Linked DNA regions of Homo sapiens: region 2 is linked to region 1. Evidence: promoter capture Hi-C in 16 types of primary human blood cells and fetal thymus (Javierre and others, 2016). All regions are on one chromosome and are shown on one strand. The core of a region is centred on a gene start or on the middle of the fragment in contact, and the rest is flanking DNA. Distances in the headings are between cores, read along the strand shown.

Evidence for each region. Contacts are between HindIII fragments. The CHiCAGO score rates a contact against its expected background, and 5 or more counts as called.
Region 2: a contact is called between a fragment that was not itself captured here and the fragment with the promoter of LNCRNA-IUR in region 1, in 1 of 17 cell types (endothelial precursors). The highest score is 5.4, in endothelial precursors.

The regions. Positions count from the first base shown.
Region 1 is chr11:95,148,736-95,154,757 of GRCh38, forward strand. LNCRNA-IUR (lncRNA imatinib upregulated) reads left to right here and starts at 1,804. Exons shown (of 3, transcript NR_110303.1): 1 at 1,804-3,013. RefSeq lists enhancers at 1,590-2,131, 2,132-2,673, 2,274-2,403 and a silencer at 2,924-3,033. The HindIII fragment of the contact is 7,632 bases long and covers 1-5,323 here.
Region 2 is chr11:96,413,705-96,420,284 of GRCh38, forward strand. No RefSeq gene overlaps it. Among named protein-coding and RNA genes, the nearest start is that of JRKL, 27 kb to the left of the region's middle. The HindIII fragment of the contact is 7,145 bases long and covers 1-6,120 here.

The DNA of each region.
Region 1 (6,022 bases), core at 554-3,053:
AAGTTATATGATTAACCTGCTTGTTCAAGATCAGCCAGATCCAGATGTCATCTAATTTAGTAACCATTGTACTTCACTTAGGATAGTGTTCTAAAACTTTAATAAGGAAGGAGTCACCCCTTTCAAAAATGCAGTATTAGTATCAAGAATATGAAAACATAAATTCTAGTAAAATTTATAAAGTAGAAATATAAATTCTAGTAACACTTGGGATGCCATGTTCAATAAATATTACTGAAGGAGGAGCTAACATCTGCTGCACTGCTTCAGTGGTCCAGGCACTCATACACTATATATAAACTCACTTAATCCTCACAGTTATCTTTTCCCCCCAGATGAAAGTGAACTTTAGAGGGATTAAATGCCTTGCCCCAAACCAAGTAACCACTTAGCGACAGAGCCAGGGTTTGAACACAGTCATGTCTCAGTCCACATTCCATGTGCTTTCCACTGAGCTCCATGTTACAGGTTGGGCTCCCCAGGAATCAGTCTCTGAGATGACAGTAGCATGCAGGAAGTTAGCAAAAAAGTGCTCAAGGGGAACACACGTGGGGAAGGGGAAAACTCAGGATTAGGCAAAGGAGAAGGTGGGCAGGTAGAACTAGAGCCAAGCAAATGCCAGCCAGCCTTTTTGGAGGGTTTGGGTGGATAACGGACAATGTCAAAAACAGCATTAATTTTCAATCCTGGGTGGTGGAAAGACTATATATATGTATGTATATATGTATGTATGTATGTATGTGTATGTGTGTATGTATGTGTGTATGTATGTGTGTGTATGTATGTATGTATGTATGTATATGTATGTGTGTATGTGTGTGTGTGTATGTATGTATGTATGTGTGTATGTATGTATGTGTAATTTCTCTATGTCAGACACTGCTGGGTTTGTGCTCCCCTCTATAATCTACTGATTGTGGGACTTCACACGAGGTACAAAACATAAGTGACCTAATAAGCCCTCTAGACAGGGCTTCAGGGAGGAGCCAAGGCTGGCACATAGTCAGAGGGCAGGAAAAGTTCCACTCCCTCCGTGTGATTAGGAGGGCTGCTTTGTTTTCTTCCCAGGCAGAGACCTCAAAGAAAAGTGTGACTTGTGGCAATCATTGGAATGCTCTAACGGGAGGGAGCCCTAAGCTAAGGGGAGGGGCTGTATCAGCCCCGGGAGGGCGAGGGACAAAGGGGCATTGTTTCCCTGGAGGGCAGGCTGGGGCAAGGCTGACTCCACTGCCGGCCTGGGCGTGGGCAGGTTTGCTCCCGGGAGGAGAAGGCCTCCATCCTGGCCCACAATAGCCAACCCAAAACAGTTCTGGCAAAATTAAAAGACGCAGGAAAATGCCAGCGACCGTTTATTTTCTCCTAGGGTAGATGGGGGAGAAAGCAGCTCCTTTTTCTGGGCTGAATGGAGTCTCAGGGAGGGGGCTAGGTGACAGCATCGCCCTTTCCTCTCCGGCTATTGCGCACCTTCTGGAGCCTCGCTCAGCCTGCTCCCTCCGGCGTAATACGCCAATGCTGCTACCCACAACGCACAGACCAGAAACCAGGATAGACAGAAGCCTAGAATGGCCTGGCATCGAGCAGGCCCAGCGCAAACGCAAGGTCTCTTCCTCTCCTTTCGGTGAACCCCACGCCCAGTCCCGAGAGAGAGAGCGGATGCTCATTTCCGAAAGCTGGCAATCCTGCAGTGGCCACTGGAAAAATACATATACGTGTGTGTGTGTGTGTGTGTGTGTGTGTGTGTGTGTGTGCGCGCGCGCGCACACAGTGCATATCGTGCCCATCTACAAGGAAACCTGGAGGCTCCACAAACAACTTTGAGTCCCGGGAGGGCGGAGGTGGAGAGAGATTCTCCGCTTGGATAAGGGCGGCTGGATAGCCGAGTACTCTCTTTTGGGGCTGTTGGCCGTCTCCGGAGTCTCGGGAGCGCCTTGATGTCCCTTCCCAGGGCTCGGGTTCCTTTGAGAGAATCAAGAGGAAGGTGTTTTTCACTAGGACTCGCGGTGGGCCCCACCTGCCTACCGTGGCCGGCCGGGAGCTATTACAGCAGGGTCTGCCCGTCCGACGACGGCGGCTCCAATCTGGGGTCCCGCCGGCGCCGACCCCTCAGCTCTCTCCCGATACCTGCTGGCCTCTCTCATCTTTGGTGGCACTCGCCGCCACGGGGACGGTGAGATCAAAGAGGTAGACCTAGGCCAGGAGGGACTGCCAGGGCTCCTTCCCGCGGGCCAGCCTCTCGTCCTTCCTCCCGGGACGGGGCTCTTTCCCTTTCTCCGGATGCGGGCCTTTGAGAGTCAGCGACGCCTTAGACTCCTCCCAGAAAAATGCACCCTCATCTACCCAATTCTGCCCTACCCTTTGGAGCTCCTGGACCCTCTAACCGCTCGGTGGGGTCAGAGCCCACCCCCGGAAGGGCCGCTGGTCGGGGACTGGTTCGCCCTCTCCTGGCCTCCTCGGACCAGTGCGCGGGGAGGATCCCGCTAACGCCGGGCGCCTGCAGACCTTGAGCGGCCTCGCCCTGGTGACCTCCCCGGGAAAGGCTGGGCGGTGCTTCCACAATGAGGGCCACCTGTTAATTTGCACGAGAAAGTGCTGCCGAGGGCCCACACGTGCGAATCCACCTGTGGAGTGCGTCCCCTCTCTGGGGCCAAGGCCTAGGGGAGGCCGAAGCGGAGAAGTTGCCTGAAGACTGGGAAGTAAGAGTAGGGGCGTCGGAGGAATCGAAGTTGCAGTGACATCAGGCTCGGACAGCCGGCGGACTCCTCGCAAGGTGATCGGATACTTCCGAGAGCCCCACAGTCCTCCTGGGCCTTTGCCCTCGCGTCTGGGATGCGCTCGGGCGCCCCCAGTCTGCGATGCGTTCGTACCTCCAGTAGGGTGACGTTTTCGCCGGGCCCCTCTGCGAACAGTCTCCGCCCTCCTCCACTGTGAGATATTTCACAGTTTCACCCGCAGAGGGCAACCTTATTCCAAGTTCCCGAGCGCCCTAGGCCTCTTTCTCCTCCCTGCCTAACTGGTGAGGTGGGACTTCAATGCCTTTTAGGTTTACAGTCTTTTCCTCCCCACGGCTTCTCTTTCCTCCCCGTCTCAGGCACTGGGCATTTCCAGTCGATCCAGCAGGTCTGGCTTCTCTCACATATGCAGTAAGGGTTAGGGGAGAAGGTCCCAGCTCCTCTTGTCTCTAGCAGAGTGTAAACTGGCTCTGCTGAGGAGGTGGCTGTGCTTTTATTCCTTCTCCTGAGAACTGTTTATATATTAAGGAGCTTCACAGCCTCCAACATAAGGAAAGCAGGTAGGAACTGATCATATAACGCTTTGTAAATGTTTTAGACTTTGGCTTTAATGGGAAAGAAATGGGGAGCCATTCGTGGGTTTTTGAGCAGCAGGTGGACATTGCTTTTCATAATGACCACGCCAGCTGCTGTTTGGAGAATAGACTGTAGGGGTCACTGCGCAAATTGGAGGCCGCGATCCAGGTGAGAACCAGGTGAAACAGAGCTCGGGCCATGGAGTGGCGCTGGAGGTAAGGAGAAACACTCAGACTCTGGGTATGTTTTTTGAAAGTAGGATAAAAGGCCGGGCGCGGTGGCTCACGCCTGTAATCCCAGCACTTTGGGAGGCCAAGGTGAGCGGATCAAGAGGTCAGGAGATCGAGACCATCCTGGCTAACACGGTGAAACCCCGTCTCTACTAAAAAAAAAAAAAAAAAAAAATTAGCAGGGAGTGGTGGCAGGTGCCCGTAGTCCCAGCTACTCGGGAGGCTGTGGCAGGAGAATGGTGTGAACCTGGGAGGCAGAGCTTGCAGTGAGCCGAGATGGCGCCACGGCACTCCAGCCTGGGCGACAGAGCGAGACTCTGTCTCAGTCAATCAATCAATCAATAAAAATACAAAACATTAGCTGGGTGTGATGGTGTGCACCCTTAATCCCACCTACTCGGGAGGCTGAGGCAAGAGAATAGCGTGAACCCAGGAGGCAGAGGTTTCAGTGAGCCGAGATTGCGCCATTGCACTCCAACCGGGGCGAAGATTTACATATATATAAGATTTTCTGTCTGATTGTTTTTTTGGGTATGAGAAAAAGACAGGAATCAGGGATGACTCCAAGCAGCTGGAAAAACGGAGATGCTGCTGGCTGAGATTGGAAGATGCTGGGGTAGAGGGATAAGACAGCTTAATGTTATATATTTTAGGTTTGAGGTGTTCATTAGAAAAACAAGTGGAGAGATTGATTGGGCAGACACACAGGTCTGGAGAGGGCTGGGCTGGAGATAGAAATATGGGTTGCCATGATACAGGCATGGGACTGAAAGCCCCATCAGTCCCTTGGAGAGATCATCAGAGAGTGAGTAGAGACATAGCAGGGCGAAGCCCTGAGCCCCGGTTCCCCCAGCATGTACCTGCAGTCTGTTTCCTCTTCTCAACTACAATTCCCATGGTCTTGTCTTGTTCACAGAACCTGCTCAAGGAGCATCTATTAAATGAAGGAACCCAACTTTCATCACATGTAAAATAAACATCATTATAATCCTACCTCATAAGGTTGTTGTCAGAAAAAGTTAAACGTCGTAATGAAAGTGAAACTGCGTTATGATTGGTAGATGCCTGCTATATTTTAAAATGTAGGCTTCATTATCTCATTCTGTACAGCTTGTATTACTTGATTGTATCTTCACAGTTTCTGATGCATGCAAGGCAGACACTCTCGTTCTCACTTTATTGACGAGGAAAGTAGGATTGGTGAGACAAAATAAGTCCCTGAAGCTGCATATCTAATGGTAACACCAGTGGCTGACCTGTTTGAGCACATCTGCGGCAGGCACTGTGTTAATGATTTTGCATGTGTTATCTGGCAACAACACAGCGAGGTGGGGGTTATTATCTTCACTTGCACATGAGGAAACTGAAGCATAGAGAGGGTGGTTAACTTAGCCAAGGTCCCATAGTGAGTGGTTGGAAGAGTCTGGGCCATGAAGCAGACCTGCCCATCCTGATTCAATGTTCTTTTTGCAGCCTGATAGCTCCTCTTCTTCATCCCCCTACTAGACTCCTGCCAGGGCCAAGCCTCACCACTCCTTCCCTTGACATTGGCAACATTCCTCTCTCCTTAACGTTTCTCTCCTACCAAGCCTGCTTGCTGCAGGATACAAGAGTTCAGTCACTCCTTGGGAACAACCTGCAGGTCAAAACATTTTGGCTTATTGCTTCCCCTTTCTGGAAAGTCCTTTCCCTTCCTCTCTGCCTTATGAACTCCTATGTGTTCTTCCAAACCCTGGTGAACTCCTATGTGGTTTTCCAAGTCCAATTAATATGTCACCTCTGTTGTGAAGCTTTCCCTGCTTGCACCAGACAAGAGGCATGACTTAGATCATGTGACACTTTGTTTATAGGTCTATCAAAACAAACTGACAATTTCCTGTGGGTTTGACTGATGCCCCTGTAATATTGTGATTTTTCTCTCAGGTTCTTATATTTTCATGTCTTTTTATCCAACATGCTGTTTGCTTCGTGAATACATAAATGAATGACCCATTTACAATCACTATCAAAGCAAATTTATGGATATCAAATATTCTTCTAGAGATGAGGAAATAGGCTAAAAGGAGTGATTTGCCTAAAGTCACTCAACTGATTAAATACTGGAGCTTTGCTGGGTATGATTATGCGTGCCTATAATCCCAGCTACTCAGGAAGCTAAGGTGGGGGCAGAGGGGGTGGGTGGCAATGACCGCTTGAGCTCAACAGTTTGAAGCCAGTCTGGCTAGCATAGTGAGACTCTGCCTCAAATAAATAAACATAAATAAATAACATAAATATTGCAGCATGAACTCAAGAGAGGTGAGGAGATTTTGTCTGGTGAAACTCAAGATTTCACATGCCTATTGCTTCCCTCTCTGGCATCTAGGGTCCTGGAACCCTCCTCCAAATGCTCCTGCAGGTGGCAACAGAGGCCAAGGAAAGGTGAAGCATTCTGGCAGAAGTTCTGGAGACAGATGAGAAGCTGAGCTCCCTGAGGGCAGGGGCAAG
Region 2 (6,580 bases), core at 1,298-3,797, 1.3 Mb after region 1:
TGGCTATGGGGAGAGACTACTGCTTGGGAAAAGAAGGAAGAGTAAAGGGGATTTTGTCTTGAGTTTAGGTACCAGCTCAGCCTTAGTGGAGAATACCACAAAGTGGGCTCTTGGGATCCTCAGTTCCTGGCCTTGGCTTTTGGATGTCATCTCTGAACCTACCCTGAGCCAGAGGGGAGCCCACTGGCCTGAAAAGTGAGTCCTGTGCCTGGCAGCATTCACCACAAGAAGAGCCCTTGGGTTTAAAGCAAACATCAGCAGTAGCCTGGCAGTACCCCCTGTGGGCCTGTGGTGGTAGTAGACATGGAGAGAGACTCCTCTTCATGGGGAAAGGGGAGGAAAGAGTGGGAAGGACTTTGTCTTGTGGCTTGGGTGCCAGCTGAGTGGTGGTAGAACAGAGCACCATATAGATTTCTAAGGTTACTGACTTCAGGCCATGACTCCCTGCCAGCATCTCTGGACCCACCCAGGTCCTAGGGGGAACTTTTCACCCTTAAAGGAAGGACATAAACCTGGGTGACTTCACCATCTGCTGATTGTAGAGCTCTAGGGCCTTAAGCAAACATACGTGGGAGCCAAGGAGTGGTTACAGTGGGCCTTGGGGAAGACCCAGTGCTGTGCTGGCTTCAAGTTTGACCTAGTGCAGCCCCAATGGTGGTGGCCACAAGGGTGCTTGTATTACCCTTCCCCCAGCTCTAGCAGCTCAGCACAGAGAGAGAGGGAATCTGTTTGGGAGATAGCAGAAGAAAAGAACAAGAGTGTCTGCTTGGTAATCCAGATAATTCTTCCAGATCATATCCAAGACCACCAACGCAGTACTTTTATGAGTTTGCAAGAACCACAGCATTACTGGGCTTGGGATACCCCTTTGTGCAAATATGGCTGCAGTGACCAAAAATTTAGATCACAACACTCAAATCTCTTCAAATAACTGGAAAGCCTGCCCAGGAAGGATGCATTCAAACAAGTCCTGATTTGAAGACTACAAGAAATACATCATTTTTAAAGGTCAGGAGATTGAGACCATCCTGGCTAACACGGTGAAACCCCGTCTCTACTAAAAATACAAAAAATTAGCCAGGTGTGGTGGCGGGCGCCTGCAGTCCCAGCTACTCGGGAGGCTGAGGCAGGAAATTCAGAATCCTTCAGATAAATTTAACAAGGAAATTGAAATAATTAAAAAGTATCAAGCAGAAATTCTGGAGTTAAAAAATGCAGTAGACATAGTGAAGAATGCCTCATGGCAGAATTGATCAAGCAGAAGAAAGCATTAGTGAGCTTGAAGACAGACTATTTGAAAATATACAATCAGAGGAGACAAAAGGAAGAAGAACAAAGAAGAATGAAACATGCCTACAAGATCTAGGAAATAGCTTCAAAAGGGCAAATCTAAATGTTATTGGCTTTAAAGAGAAAGTAGAGAGAAACATAATGGTAGAAAGTTTATTCAAAGGGAAAATAACAGAGAACTTCCCAAACCTAAAGAAAGATGACAATATTTCAGTACAAGAAGGTTATAGAATACCAGCCAGATTTAACCCAAAGAAGACTAACTCAAGGCATTTAATAATCAAGGTCCCAAAGATCAAGGATAAAGAAGGATCCTAAAAGGAGCAAGAGAAAATAAACAACATTCAATGGAGCTCCAATGCATCTGTCAGTAGACTTTTCAGTGGAAGCCTTACAGACCAGGAGACAGTGGCATGACATAAAGGACTGAAGAAAAACAACTTTTACCCTAGAATAGCATATCCAGTGAAAATATCCTTCAAACATCAAAGAAAAATAAAGACTTTCCCAACAAATAAAAGCTGAGGGATTTCATCAACCCCAGACCTGTGCTACAAGAAATGCTAAAGGGATTTCTTTAATCTGGAAGAAAAAGATGTTAATGAGCAATAAAAAATCATCTGAAGGCACAAAACTCACTAGTAATAGTTAAGTACAGAAAAATCATAATATTATAACACTTATCATGGTGTGTAAACTCATATTGTATGTAGAAAGACAAAAGATGAAGTGATAAAAAATAAGTACAATTTTTAAGACATAGTGTAATAAGATAAATAAAAACAAAAATTTAAAAGTTGGAAAAAAGTTAAAATATAGCATTTTTATTCGTTTTATTTTTGCTTGTTTGTTTATGCAATCAGTGTTTGGTTGTCATCAGTTTAAAATAATAGGTTATAGGATTATTTGCAAGCCTTATGATAACCTCAAATCTAAGAACATACAATGGATACAGAAAAAAATAAAAAGCAAGAAATTAAAACATACTACTAGAGAAAATCACCTTCACTAAAAGTAAGACAGAAAGGAAGGAAAGGAGGAAGAGAAGACTACAAAACAACCATAAAACAAATAACAGAACGGCAGTAGTAAGTTCTTACTTATCAATAATAACATTGAATATATATGGACTAAACTCTCCAAACAAAAAGACATAGAGTGGCTGAATAGATGAAAAAACAAGACCCAATGATCTCTTGCCTACAAGAAATGCACTTGATTTATAAGGACACATGTAGACTAAAAATAAGGGGATGAAAAAAGATATTCCATGCCAATGGAAACCAAAAAAGAGCAGGAGTAGCTATACTTAGACAAAATAGATTTCAGGACAAAAACTATAAAAAGAGACAGTGTTGGTCAGGAGATCGAGACCATCCTGGCTAACACGGTGAGACCCCGTCTCTACTAAAAATACAAAAAATTAGCTGGGCGTGGTGGCAGGCGCCTATAGTCCCAGCTGCTCAGGAGGCTGAGGCAGGAGAATGGTGTGAACCCGGGAGGTGGAGCTTACAGTGAGCTGAGATCGCACCACTGCACTCCAGCCTGAGCGACAGAGCAAGACTGTCTCAAAAAAAAAAAAAAAAAAAAAAAAGAGACAGTGTTATTATTATATAATGATAAAGTGGCATATTCAGCAATAGGATGTAACAATCATAAGTATTATATACACCCAACACTGGAGCACCCAAATATATAAAGCAAATATTTTTAAAGCTAAAGCAGGAGATAGACCCCACTACAATAATAGATCTTCCAGACAGAAAATCAACAAAGAAACATCAGACTTAATCTGCAGTATAGACCGAATGGACCTAATAGATACTTACAGAACATTTTATTCAACGGCTGCAGAATACACATTGTTCTCCTCAGCACATGGATCAATGTCAATGATAAACCATATGTTAGGCCACAGAACAAGTCTTAAAATATTCAAAGGCTGGGCGCGGTGGCTCACGCCTGTAATCCCAGCACTTTGGGAGGCGGAGGCGGGTGGATCACGAGGTCAGGAGATCGAGACCATCCTGGCTAACACGGTGAAACCCTGTCTCTACTAAAAATACAAAAAATTAGCCGGGTGTGGTGGCGGGCTCCTGTAGTCCCAGCTACTTGGGAGGCTGAGGCAGGAGAATGGCGTGAACCCGGGAGGTGGAGCTTGCAGTGAGCGGAGATTGCGCCACTGCACTCTAGCCTGGGGGACAGAGCAAAACTCTGTCTCGGGGGAAAAAAAAATTCAAAAAATTGAACTAATATCAAGTGTCTTCTCTGACTACATGGAATAAAACTAGAAATCAGTAACAAGACTAATTTTGAAAACTATATAAACACATGGAATATAATATGTTCCTGAATGACCAGTGGGTCAGTGAAGAGATTGAGAAGAAAACTGAAAATTTTCTTCAAAGAAATGAAAATGGAAACATGACATACTCAAAACTATGAGATATAGTGAAAGCAGTACTAAGAGGCAAGTTTATAGCTGTAAATGGTTACATCAAAAGGAAGAAAAACTTTAATAACCTAATGATTCATCTTAACGAACTAGAAAAGCAAGAGCAAACAAAACCCAAAGTTAGTAGAAGAAAAATAATAATAGGTCAGAGCGGAAATAAATGAAATGGGAACAAAGCAATACAAAGGATTAGCAAACAAAAAGTTGGTTTTCTGAAAAGATAAACAAAATAGACAAACCTTTAGTTTAACTAAGAAAGAGAGACAACCCAAATAAATACAATCAGAGCTGAAAAGGGATACATTACAACTGATACTGCAGAAATTCAAAGGATCATTATGGCCACTATGAGCAAATATATGCGAATAAATTGGAAATCCTAGAAGAAATGAACAAATTCCTAGATACATACAACCCACCAAGATTGAACCAAGAAGATGTACCACTTGAATAGTCAAATAACAAGTCATGAGATTGAAGCTGTAATTTAAACAAATCTCCCAGCAAAGAAAATTCTGGGACCCAAAGGCTTCACTGCTGAATAATACCAAACATTTAAAGAAGAAGTAATACTAATCCCACCAAACTATTCCAAAAAAATAGATAAGGGAATACTTTTGAACTCATTATATGAAGCTCATATTACCCTGTATTGAAACCAAACAAAGATACATCAAAAAAAGAAAACTACAAGCCAATATCCCTGATGAACATTGATGCAAAAATCCTCAACAAGATACCAGCAAACTGAATTCAGCAACTAAAAAGATCACCAGTTAAAAAGACCATTAATCATGACCAAGGGAGATTTATCCCAGGGATGCAAAGATGGTTCAACATACACAAAACAATCAATGTGATACAGCATATAACAGAATGAAGGACAAAAACCATGTGATCATTTCAACTGATACTGAGAAAGCGTTTGATTAAATTCAACATCCATTAATGATAAAAAGCCTCAAAAACTGGGTATATAAGGACTGTACCACAAAGTAATAAAAGCTATGACAGACCCGCAGCTAATATTATACTGACTGAGGGAAAACTGAAAGACTTTCTGCTAAGATCTGGAACATGACAAGGATGCCCACGTTTACCACTGTAATTCAACTGGAAGTCCGCGGTAGAGTAGTCAGACATGGGAAAGAAATAAATGACATCCAAATTGTAAAGGAAACAGTAAAATTATCCTTGTTTCCAGATGATGTGATCTTATATTTGGAAAAACCTAAAGACTTGACCAAAAACCTATTAGAACTGATAAACAAATTCAATCAAGTTGCAGGATACAAACTCAACATACCAAAATCAGTAGTATTTCTATATGCCAACAGTGAACAAGCTGAAAAAGAAAAAAAGAAAGTAGTACCATTTACAGTACTACAAAAAAATACACAGGAATTAACTTAACCAAAGAAGTGAAAAATCACTACAGATATGGTCTGGCTCTGTGTGCTCACCCACATCTCACCTTGAATTGTAATCCCCATAATTCCCACATGTCAAGGGCAGGACCAGGTGGAGGTAATTGGATGATGGGGGTGGTTTCCCCTACACTGTTTTTGTGATAGTGAGTGAGTCTCACAAGATCTGATGGTTTTATAAGCGCCTGGCATTTCCCCTGCTTGTACTTACTCCGTCCTGCTTCCCTGTAAAGAAGGTGCCTGCTTATCCTTTGTCTTCCACCATGATTGTAAGTTTTCTGAGGCCTCCCCAGCAATGTGGAACTGTGAGTCAATTAAACCTCTTTCCTTTATAAATTACCCAGTTGGGGGTATTTCTTCATAGCAGTGTGAGAATGGACTAATACAGCTACAAAGAAAAGTATAAAACATTGATGCAAGAAATTGAAGACGACACACACACAAAATAGAAAGATATTCATTTTAATAGACTAGAAGAATCAAAATTGTTAAAATGTTCATACAACTCACATTACTTGACTTCAAATTATTCTACAGAGCTATAGTAACCAAAACAGCGTGGTACTGGCATAAAAACAGACACATAGACCAATGGAATAGAATTGAGGACCAAAAAACAAATGCATACATCTACAGAGCAATCATTTTTGATAAAGGTGCCAAAAATATACACTGGGGAAAGGACAGTCTCTTTAACAAACAGTGCTGGGAAATCTGGATATCCATCATACATAGCAGAAGGAAACTGGACCCCTATCTCTTGCCAAATACAAAAATGAAATCAAAATGAAAGAGTTCAATCTAAGACCTCAAACTATAAAACTACTTAAAGAAAACTTTGGGGAAACTCTCCAGGTCATTGGATTAGGCAAACATTTCTTGAGTAATACCCCATAAACACAGGCAACCAAAGCAAAAATGGATAAATGTGATCACATCGAATTAAAAAGCTTTGGCATAGCAAAGGAAACAATCAACAAAGTGAAGAGAAAACCCACACAAAGGGAGAAAATACTTGTAAACTCTCCATCTGACAAGGGATTGATAACCAGAGGATATAAGGAGCTCAAACCACTCTATAGGAAAAAAATTGAATAACCTGATTAAAAATGAGCAAAAGATTTGAATAGATGTTTCTCAACAGAAGACACACAAGTGGCAAACAGGTATATGAAAATGTGCTCAACATCACTGATCATCAGAGAAATGCAAATCACAACTACAATGAGATATCATCTCACCCCAGTTAAAATGGCTTTTATCCAAAAGACAGGTAATAACAGATGCTGGTGAGGACGTGGAGAAAAGGGAACTCTCATACACTGTTAATGGGAATGTAAATTCGTACAACCACTATGGAGAACAGTTTGGAAGTTCCTTGAAAAAGTCCCAAAATAGACTACCATAT